Regions from separate parts of the Homo sapiens genome. Here regions 2 and 3 are each linked to region 1. Evidence: promoter capture Hi-C in 16 types of primary human blood cells and fetal thymus (Javierre and others, 2016). All regions are on one chromosome and are shown on one strand. The core of a region is centred on a gene start or on the middle of the fragment in contact, and the rest is flanking DNA. Distances in the headings are between cores, read along the strand shown.

What was found. Contacts are between HindIII fragments. The CHiCAGO score rates a contact against its expected background, and 5 or more counts as called.
Region 2: a fragment that was not itself captured here is called in contact with the fragment with the promoter of PKDREJ in region 1 in 1 of 17 cell types (erythroblasts); the score reaches 6.7 in erythroblasts.
Region 3: a contact is called between a fragment that was not itself captured here and the fragment with the promoter of PKDREJ in region 1, in 4 of 17 cell types (erythroblasts, megakaryocytes, endothelial precursors and 1 more). The highest score is 9.1, in erythroblasts.

Annotation. Positions count from the first base shown.
Region 1 is chr22:46,262,010-46,265,638 of GRCh38, reverse strand. PKDREJ (polycystin family receptor for egg jelly) reads left to right here and starts at 2,296. Exons shown (of 1, transcript NM_006071.2): 1 at 2,296-3,629. The coding sequence starts at 2,317. The HindIII fragment of the contact is 7,014 bases long and covers 1-3,629 here.
Region 2 is chr22:46,169,143-46,172,747 of GRCh38, reverse strand. The region is part of intron 2 of PPARA (peroxisome proliferator activated receptor alpha); the gene reads right to left. It overlaps LOC105373074 (a long non-coding RNA gene), which reads left to right and starts at 520. Exons shown (of 2, transcript XR_938315.3): 1 at 520-646. The HindIII fragment of the contact is 5,560 bases long and covers 1-3,605 here.
Region 3 is chr22:46,141,991-46,145,424 of GRCh38, reverse strand. It overlaps LOC124905138 (a long non-coding RNA gene), which reads left to right and starts at 1,197. Exons shown (of 2, transcript XR_007068140.1): 1 at 1,197-1,999. The HindIII fragment of the contact is 4,128 bases long and covers 1-3,434 here.

The DNA.
Region 1 (3,629 bases), core at 1,047-3,546:
TGGCAGCTTCCATGTGGTGTTGAGCCTGCAGTTGCACAGAAGTCAAGAATTGAGGTTTGGGAACCTCTGCCTAGATTTCAGAAGATATATGGCAACACCTGGATGCCAGGCAGAAGTTTACTGTAGGGGGAAGGCTCTCATGGAGAACCTGTGCTAGGGCAGTGTGGAAGGGAAATGTAGGGTTAGAGCCCCCACACAGAGTCCCTACTGGGGCACCGCCTAGTGGAGCTGTGAGAAGAGGGCCACCATCCTCCAGACCCTAGAATGGTAGATTCACCAACAGCTTGCACCATGAGTCTAGAAAAGCTGCAGACACTCAACACCAGCCCACGAAGGCAACCAGGAGGGAGGCTGTACCCTGCAAAGCCACAGGGGCGGAGCTGCCCAAGACCATAGGAACCCACCTCTTGCATCAGCATGAGCTGGATTTGAGACATGAAGTCAAAGGAGATAATTTTGGAGCTTTAGGATTTGACTGCCCCACTGGATTTCAGACTTGCATGGGCCCTATAACTCCTTTGTTTGGCCAATTTCTCCCATTTGGAATGGTTGTCTTTACCCAATGTCTGTACCCCACTGTATCTAGGAAATAACTAACTTGCTTTTGATTTTTTTTCTGTTTTTTGAGACAGAGTTTCGTTCCTGTTGCCCAGGCTGGAGTGCAATGACACGATCTTGGCTCACCGCAACCTCTGCTTCCCGGGTTCAAGCGATTCTCCTGCCTCAGCCTCCCGAGTAGCTGGGATTACAGGCATGCACCACCACACCCGGCTAATTTTGTATTTTTAGTAGAGATGGGGTTTCTCCATGTTGGTCAGGCTGGTCTCAAACTCCCAAGCTCAGGTGATCTGCCCGCTTCAGCCTCCCGAAGTGCTGGGATTACAGGGTGAGCCACTGCGCCCAGCCAGTTGCTTTTGATTTTACAGGCTCATAAGCATAAGCGACTTCCTTTGTCTCAGACAGGACTTTGGACTGTGGACTTTTGAGTTAATGTGAAATGAGTTAAGACTTTGGAGGACTGTTGGGAAGGCATGATTGGTTTTGAAATGTGAGGAGATGAGATTTGGCAGGGGTGGAATGATATAGTTTGGCTCTGTGTCCCCACCCAAATCTCATCTTATAGTCCCATAATTCCCACATGTTGTGGGAGGGACCGGGTGGGAGATAACTGAATCACAGGGGCAGTTTCCCCCATATTGTTCTGTGGTAGTGAATAAGTCTCAGGAGATCTGATGCTTTTATCAGGGGTTTCCGCTTTTGCGTCTTCCTCATTTTCTCTTGCCACTGCCATGCAAGAAGTGCTTTTTGCCTCCTGCCATGATTCTGAGGCCTCCCCAGCCATATGGAACTGTAAGTCCAATTAAACCTCTTTTTCTTCCCAGTCTTGGTTATGTCTTTATCAGCAGCATGAAAACGGACTAATACAGGGGAGGGCCAATTAAGACCACGAGTTTGAGACCAGCCTGTGAAACACAGCAAGACACCATCTCTACAAAAATAAAAAATAAATCAGTCAGGTGTAGTGGTGTAGACCTGTAGTATGGGAGGCTGAGGCAGGAGGATTCCTTGAGCCCAGGAGTTCAAGGTTACAGTCAGCTATGATTGCACCATTGCACTCCAGCCTGGGCAACAGAGCAAGACCCTGTCTCTAAAATCATTCAATCCATCAATCAAGTCCCAAAATATACAGCAAAAATGGACAGAGTTAAAGAATGAGGCCAGGCACAGTGGCTCATGCCTGTAATCCCAGCACTTTGGGAGGCCGAGGTGGGTGGATCACTTGAGGTCAAGCCATTGCACTCCAGCCTGGGTGACAGAGACTCCGTCTCAAAAAACAAACAAACAAACAAACAAACAAAAAACAAAACCCCCAAACCAACTAGAAAGAAAAGAGCAAAGCGACCCCAAAGTAAGAAACCGAGAGTCAGACCTTCCTGGGCGCCCAGGGATCTCACGGTTCCCTCCTGATCTCCCATTTTGTGACTGGCTTTCCCAAGGGTTCCTGCTGAAGCCCCTTCTCCGTGGTCAGCTCTGTGGTCTGCACGGGGCTGAACTGCCCTCCTGAGCCATCCTGACCCTGGGCCTGCACACACTTGGGGACGGAGAGGGAAGAGGTACCCAAGAAGTCCCCAGTGCCGACTGACCCCAAGCTCCGAGGTCCCAGCTGCTCTCTGGGACTCTGTCCCTGGGACCCCTCTGCCAGCGCCCTTCGACGCCCGAGACCCCCACTGTCCCCAAGACCCTCACTATCCCCGCGACCCCGGTGGCGGTTGGGCGCGCCTCGCGGCCTCTCCCAGCTTCTCCTGGGCCGGCGCCATGAGGCCTGGGCCCGCTCTCCTCCTTCTGGGCGTGGGCCTGAGCCTGAGCGTCGGCCGCCTCCCGCTGCCGCCGGTTCCTCGCGGGGCACAAGCCGCCGTCTCCGGGGCGCCCGGTGGCCTCCTCAGGGGCGCCCCGGGCCTCGGGGTGCGCGGCGGCCGCGCCCTCCTCAGTCTGCGGCCCAGCGCGGTGCGGGCGGGCGGCGCTGTCCTGAGCGGCCGCGGCAGCCTCTGCTTCCCCCATGGCGGGACCGGGCGGCGCTGGTACTGCCTCGACTTGCGCGTCCTGCTCAGCGCCCAACGCCTGCCCTGGCCGGCCGCGCCCGCGCTCGCGCTCGTCGACCTGCAGCTCTCCGCGCGCGGCGGCCGCCTCTCCCTGACGTGGTCCGTGCGGCTGCCGCGCTCGCCCGGGCGCCTGGCCTGGGCCTTCCGCCTGCGGCTGCTCGGACCCGGCGCCGCCCGCCCGGCCTCCCCCGCGGCCCGCGTCTCCCCGCGCTCCGCCGCGCCAGGCCCGCGGCCCCAGCAGGGCTTCGTGGCCCGCACCGAGTGCCCCACAGACGGCCCCGCGCGCGTGATGTTGCAGGCCGTCAACTCGTCCAGCCACAGAGCCGTCGAGTCGTCCGTGTCCTGTCAGATAAACGCCTGCGTCATCCAGCGCGTGAGGATCAACACGGACCAGAAGGGCGCCCCCGTGCGCCTGAGCATGCAGGCGGAGGCCACCATCAACGCCTCGGTGCAGCTGGACTGCCCGGCCGCGCGCGCCATCGCCCAGTACTGGCAGGTGTTCTCCGTGCCCGCCGTGGGTCAGGCGCCCGACTGGACGCAGCCCTTGGATCTGCCCCAGCTCGAGATCAGGAACAGCCCCTTGTTCATTCACATCCCCAATAATTCGTTACAGTGGGGAGTGTATGTGTTTAATTTCACGGTGTCCATCACCACAGGGAACCCCAAGATGCCCGAGGTGAAAGACTCGGACGCCGTCTATGTCTGGATCGTCAGGAGTTCCCTGCAGGCGGTGATGCTTGGCGATGCCAACATAACAGCTAATTTCACAGAGCAGCTGATTCTGGACGGGTCCACGTCCTCGGACCCAGATGCGGACAGCCCGTTACAGGGACTCCAGTTCTTTTGGTACTGTACCACAGATCCCAGAAACTACGGTGGGGATCGAATAATCCTGGGGAGCAAGGAAGTCTGTCACCCCGAGCAGGCCAATCTGAAATGGCCCTGGGCCTCGGGCCCTGTACTGACACTTTTGCCAGAAACACTTAAAGGCGACCACGTGTATTTCTTCAGAATGGTGATTCGGAAGGA
Region 2 (3,605 bases), core at 734-3,233, 93 kb after region 1:
ACATGCCTTGAATCCAACAGGTCCCGATGTGACCTCGGTCTTTTACCTCCGCACAAAGTTACGGCTTATGGCTGTTTGGACAGTCTGGTTTGTCGATCGTTTGGTCGGAAAGTCTGTTTTTTTCTTTTTTGAGATGGGGCCTTGCTCTCTCACCGAGGCTGCAATGCAGTGGCACGATCTCAGCTCACAGCAACATCCACCTCCCAGGTTCAAGTGATTCTCCTGTCTCAGCCTCCTGAGTAGCTGGAACTATAGTCACACGCCACCATGCCTGGCTAATTTTTGCATTTTCAGTTTCACCATGTTGGCTAGGCTGGTCTCCAACTCCTGACTTCAGGTGATCCACCTACCTCGGCCTCCCAAAATGCTGGGATTACAGGCGTGAGCCACTGCCCGGCCCAATGCTGTTTTTTTTTTTTTTTTTTTTTTAATTACTTGCATTCATCCTGTGGTTTCCATCCCAGCTCATGGCATCCTGCCCAGGGTATCACTAACTCCCTCCTCACTTCCTGCCACAGCCTCTTCCCTCTCCCTTTTCTAAGGTTCTCACACACGGCTGCCAGGTTCCTCACCTGAAGGAGAACCCTGATCACCTCCTGGGGATGGGCTCTTCTCGAGCATGGCTTCCAAGTACCCAGATTCACAGGTAGGGAAACCGACCAGGGACAGGTATCACCCAAGGCGACACGGCTGCTCAGTGGCTGGGCTGGAGCTAAGGTCAAGGTCTTCCTACACCCAACGCGGTGGAGCCTTTCCCACTTAGCCACCTTGCTTGGCCGGGCCCCACCCCTTCAGGCCCCTCTGCAAACCTCAGAACCACCTATAGCTTCTGCCCGGGCCCTGCAAGCTGCCCAAGGGGGCTTTTTAGCAGCTAGATCAGAGCATATCCAGTCCCCTAAGAAGCCCTCGCTGGTCCCCATCCCATGGCCTTTCACACACAACACAAACCAGAGTCCTCACAACGGCCCCGACCTCCACGAGACTGGTCCTGCCTCTCCCCTGGGACCTCCTGACCTCTTTCTCCTCCTCCTCCTCTCCAGGACACTGCTCGAGTCACACTTCCTGGCTGTTCCTCTCATGAGCCCACCCTGCTGCCCTCCCTGTCAGGATGCTCCCATCCTGATGTCTGCTCCACCTGCTCTCACCTGCTTCCAGCCCTTCCTCAGATGCTAGGTCCTGGTCACCACCTCAGGGAAGCCAAACTGGACCAGCTTCCTGGTGCCCTCACCCCTTCTGGCACCCTTGACCCACTCACCTGTCCTGGGCTTGCTCCTCCTACTGTACCTGAAGGCGGCTAAGTCACCAGGCCAGCTGCTCCATCACTCCACTCATGACCTGTCTGTCCCTGCCAGAGGATCAGCTCTCATAGACGAGGGTGTCATGGGTTTTGTTCACTTACGTATCTTAGAACAATGCCTGGTACAGAGAAGGAGCTCAAATATCTGGTGGAGTTTGAACTAGAATGCACGAATCTTCTCTTCATGTCCCCTAGCAAGCCTTGAACTCTGGCCAAAATAGATGACTCGGCATCTGCCAGCCCCACCCCAGGCTTCCTGGACTCTGTACTTTTTTTTTTTCTTTTTTTATGAGACAGAGTCTTGCTCTGTTGCCCAGGCTGGAGTGCAGTGGCGCAGTCTTGGCTCACTGCGATCTCTGCCTCCTGGGCTCAAGCAATTCTCCTGCCTCAGCCTCCCAAGTAGCTGGGATTACAGGTACCTGCCATTGTGCCTGGCTAATTTTTGTATTTTTAGTAGAGAGAGGGTTTTGCCATGTTGACCAGGCTGGTCTCGAACTCCTGACCTCAGGTGATCTGCTGTCTCGGCCTCCCAAAGTGCTGGGATTACAGGCGTGAACCACTGCACCCAGCCCTGGCCTCTGTACTTTATCCTACTTCTTTCTGCCAGGAATGCATCCCATTCTACACATTTGGGGGGCAGTACAGATGCCTTTCCTCTCCAAAGTGCTCAGGATCCCTCCAGGGGAAGGACTTTGTCCCTCCTCTGAATCACGACAACTCTCATTGTGGGTATTGATGTATGCCTTTTCTGCTCAACTGACCTGTAACTCTTGGAGGAAGAATTCTTGTCTGTCATCTTCCTCTCCTACACCAGGCAGACGTTCAATAAAAATTTACAGAATGAGTCTGACATTGGTGCTAAATTCTGAACATTGTTCCCTGTCTTACAAAAACTCAAATCAGGACCGGTGCAGTGGCTCACACCTGTAATCCCAGCACTTTGGGAGGCTGAGACAGGCTGATCCCTTGAGTCCAGGAGTTTGAGACCAGCCTGGGTGATATGACAAAACCCCGTCCCTACAAAAAAAAAAAAAAAAAAAAAAAAAAATTAGCTGGGTGTGGTGGTACACACCTGTGGTCCCAGCTACTTAGGAGGCTGAGGTGGGTGGATCACTTGAGGCCAGGAGTGAGCCAAGATCACACCACTGCACTCCAGCCTGGGTGACAGAGTAAGACCGTGTCTCAACAAAACAAAACAAACAACTCCCACCCCCCTGCCACCAAAAACACACTTACATCATTTTAAGTAATGGACCTATGAAAAAGAGCCTGTATACAGTACAAGTATTTAAAGGACAAGACTGGTTGCAGAACAAATGTTTTTCTAAAAAAAAAAAACAAAGATGAATGCAACTTAAAGTGACAAGAATGCTAATGGAACAGAAGCCAGCTGTTTAAGAGGAAAACTGAATTTTCTTGTTAAAAAGTAAAGTTCCTGAAGTGCATCCCATGACAGCCTGGGAGGGAGTGCATTGAACAGTTTTCAGGCCATTTGAACTGTCTATAGTCAGCTCTGTAAAGTCCACATCATTCAAGTAAACGTAGTCAGGATGCCTACATGTGCTTGGTGTCAGATGTCAGTATCCCTTGTGTGACACATGAGGCTTTTCTTAAGATGACTGACACCTTCCTAATACTGAGCTGTCCCTTCCATGAACATAGTATATCCATCTATTTATTTGGGCTATATTTAAGCTCTCTTAATAACATAATCAGTTTTCTGAGTAGAGATCTTATATATCTTTTTCAGATTTATTCCTAGATATAGATACACTATAAAAGTAACTTTTAATTAATAAACTTTCTTATTTAGAGAAGTTTTGGGCTTACAGAAAAATTGAGTGGAAAGTACAGAGAGGTCTCATATACCACCTCACTCCCACCACAGTTTCCCTGTTATTAACATCTTGCATTGGTGGCCGGGCGTGATGGCTCATGCCTGTAATCCCAGCACTTTGGGAGGCCGAGGCGGGCAGATCACGACAGCAGGAGATCAAGACCATCCTGGCTAGCATGGTGAAACCCCGTCTCTACTAAAAATACAAAAAATTAGCCGGGCGTGGTGGCGGGCGCCTGTAGTCCCAGCTACTCCGGAGGCTGAAGCAGGAGATTGGCGTGAACCCGGGAGGCGGAGCTTGCAGTGAGCCGAGATTGCGCCACTGCACCCCCTCCGTCACAAAACAAACAAACAACAAACAAACATCTTGCATTGGTGAGGTACATTTGTTGCCACTGATGAGCCAATGTTGACATATTATTGCTAACTGAAGCCCACAGTTTTCATTTTCACTCTTTGTGTTGTACATTT
Region 3 (3,434 bases), core at 284-2,783, 120 kb after region 1:
CCCTGTCCCACCCTATTATCTGCCTTTCACCAAAGCATCCTGCCAGCCAGGAAAGGCAATCTGAACCGGAGCCTGTGCAGCTGAGTGGAAGGGGGGCTGCCCTATTGCATTGCTCTGCTTGGGTTTCACTAAAACGTGGGATTGGGCCATGGTCCCTCATCTCCTGGAAGGGACAGGTCATGTTTGACAAAGTTTTCTGGGTCTGCAGCAAAGTGAAAAAAACAAAACAAAACAAAACAAAAAAACAAAAAACTGACATTGTGAAGAGTTTCCTATAGAACTTCAACTAGCTGATTTAAAGAAATACCTCGGGGCCAGGCGTGGTGGCTCATGCCTGTAATCCCAGCACTTTGGGAGGCCGAGGCAGGTGGACCATCTGAGGCCAGGAGTTCGAGACTAGCCTGGCCAACATGGTGAAACCCCATCTCTACTAAAAATACAAAAATTAGCTGCGCATGGTGGCACGTGCCTGTAGTCCCACCTACTCTGGGGGCTGAGGCAGGAGAATCGCTTGAACCCAGGAGGCGGAGGTTGCAGTGACTGGAGATTAGCCTGGGCGACAGAGTGAGACTCTGTCTCAAAAAAAAAGAAAAGAAAAGAAAAGAAAGAGCCTTGGGCTGGGCATGGTGGGCCTGTAATCCTAGCACCTAGGGAGGCTGAGGCAAGTGGATCACCTGAGACAGGAGTTCAAGACCAGCCTGACCAATATGGTGAAACCCGTCTCTACTAAATACAAAAAATTAACTGGGCGTGGTGGTGCATGCCTGTAATCCCAGCTACTTGAGAGGCTGAGGCAGAATTGCTTGAACCCTGGAGGCAGAGGTTGCAGTGAGCCAAGATTGCGCCATTGCACTCCAGCCTGGGCAACGAGAGTGAGAGTCCATCTCAAAAAGAAAAAAAAAAAGCAATAGCCTTTTTTTTCAGGCCAGGCATAGTGGCTCACACCTGTAATCCCAGCACTTTGGGAGGCAGAGGCGGGAGGATTGCTTGAGGCCAGGAGTTTGAGACCAGCCTGGGCAACATAATGAGACCCCGTCTCTACAAAAAGTAAAAAAAAAAAAAATTAGCCAAGCATGGTAGCACGTGCCTGTGGTCCCAGCTACTCAGGAGGCTGAGGTGTGAAGATCACTTGGGCCTGGGAGGTCAAGGCTACAACGAGCTGTGATTGCACCACTGCACTCCAGCCTGGGCAACATTGAGAGGCTCATTTCTTTTCTCAAAGAAAAACAAGACAAATATCCTTTTCCTTCCCAAGACTATATCCTTTATATTCTTTTGTTGTTGTTGAAAATACCTTTCCTTAGTGGGAATTGCTTAGATGAAGTGCTGATATTGGTTAGCTTTGACTTGGCAAAACCAAGATATTGGCAAACACCATGTTTGTCTCCAAAGCTGTTGAAAATGGCACCCATCTGTAAGAGCCCAAGGTCCAAGGGCCGACCCCTCACCCCTCAGATGTGCTTTATTTACTGATAAACATACAGCACCAAGAATTCTTGACATTTTCCCAATCTTTCCATGCCAGCTCTCTTCTCCATTTTATTAGTGATATTTATTTTCAAGTCAACACATTGGTTTGTGTTGAGACTTGCAGCGTTGGAATATAAAGTTCTATGTGAGGCCCTGATTTTGATCTTTCACAAAACCAAGGAGCAGGGTGCGGGCTACAACCTTGAGAACCTGCAGGAGCTACGCCCACACGGGCCTTGGCTGGCATGACATTGGACACCCTCCCAGGGGGGCCCCCGGCCTGGGGAAGAGCCTCCTCTCTGCCTGGGAGCCTCAAGGTGTGCAGAGGAGGGAGTTGGCTGGAGCCAGATGTGTGAAGGCAATCAGTGTTTCTCTGCAAGGTGACGGTGGCGTGGGGCAGGCAGACACAGGACCAGCATCCTGGCAGGCAGGGTTCTTGGATGGCTGGTGGGGAAGACAGGCTGGGAGACTGTCAATTCATCGTTCCCCCTCTCCAGGTGGAGGCATGAAATTAGATCAAAGCATCTTGGTGAGTATTCGTGATGAGTTGAGTTTTTAAAACAAAACCAAATAACTAGCTAGTGGGTGCTCAGTGGGTGGCAAGGACTGAGTTGGCCTTTCCAAGCATGACCCTGCTTCCCTGTCCAGCGTGCCCAGTGCTGACTTTCTCTCAGAGAACATGGTGGGCTCTGGGCTCCTGTGGAGTTTCCAGGACGTTTTCTCAGCTCTGCCTGTTCCCTGGCTCCCTGAGACTTTGGAGTGCGCTGCAGGAGGGACTGGCCATCTGCCCGGCCTGGTCTAGCTGCTGTTCACTCAGGGTTGGGTGCTCTCAGTACCTCCTCTCCCTGCTGGGCTAGGAGTCTGCCCTCACTGCCTCCTCATGCCTGGGGCAGACCTCAGTTTCCCACTAACCCCATTCTTCTAACTCCCTCTCTGTGTGCCTGCCTCCCTCATCACACCAGGAGGGGCTCCGGCAGAGGAACCCTGCCTTCCCCCATGTGTGGCCTCGGCTCCTAGTAGGCAGAATCCTTCCTGCTGCAAAATGGCTCCAGCTTCATGCTGCCCACCCTTGGAGTAAGAGTCAGCCCTGAGCCCAGGCAGGCCAGGGATGTGACTGAGAAGCATAAGCAGTGGGCACCTGGAGGGCCAGAGACGCAGGCTGAGGAGCTGGGATTGTCCTGCAGACAATGTTCTTGGGCAGCCAAGAAAGATGCTTGAGCACCGGCGGGCTCAGATGCAGGGGACCTTCCCAGTCCCCTGTCCTCACCTGCTCAGAGCCGGCAGAAGGAGCAGGAGCGGGGTCCTGAGACACTGTTCCATAAGGGACAATGGCACTGCTGCAAAGATACCACAATGGAAAGTGGTCTTGCCCTACTCGAAAGACAGTAGTTTGAGTGGGAACTCAAAAGTACCACTTGTGAGGCACAAGTCTGTCTTCTTTCTTTCCTTTTTTTTTTTTCCTGGTGCGGAGGGGAGGTTGGATCTTGCTCTGTCACCCAGGCTGGAGTACAGTGGCACAATCATGGTTCACTGCAGCCTCAAACTGCTGGGTTCACATAACCCTCCTGCCTCTGCCTCCTGAGTAGCTGGGACTACAGGTGTACACCACCATGACTGGCTAATTAAAAGTATTATTATTGGCCGGGCGCGGTGGTTCACGCCTGTAATCCCAGCACTTTGGGAGGCTGAGGCGGGCAGATCACAAGGTCAGGAGATCGACTAAAACACAGTGAAACCCCATCTGTACTAAAAATACAAAAATTAGCCAGGCGTGGTGGTGTGCACCTGTAGTCCCAGCTGCTGGGGAGGCTGAGGCAGGAGAATGGCGTGAACCCGGGAGGCGGAGCTTGCAGTGAGCCGAGATGGCACCACTGCACTCCAGCCTGGGCAACAGAGCGAGACTCCATCTCAAAAAAAATATATATATATATATATATATATATTTATTATTATTATTACTATTT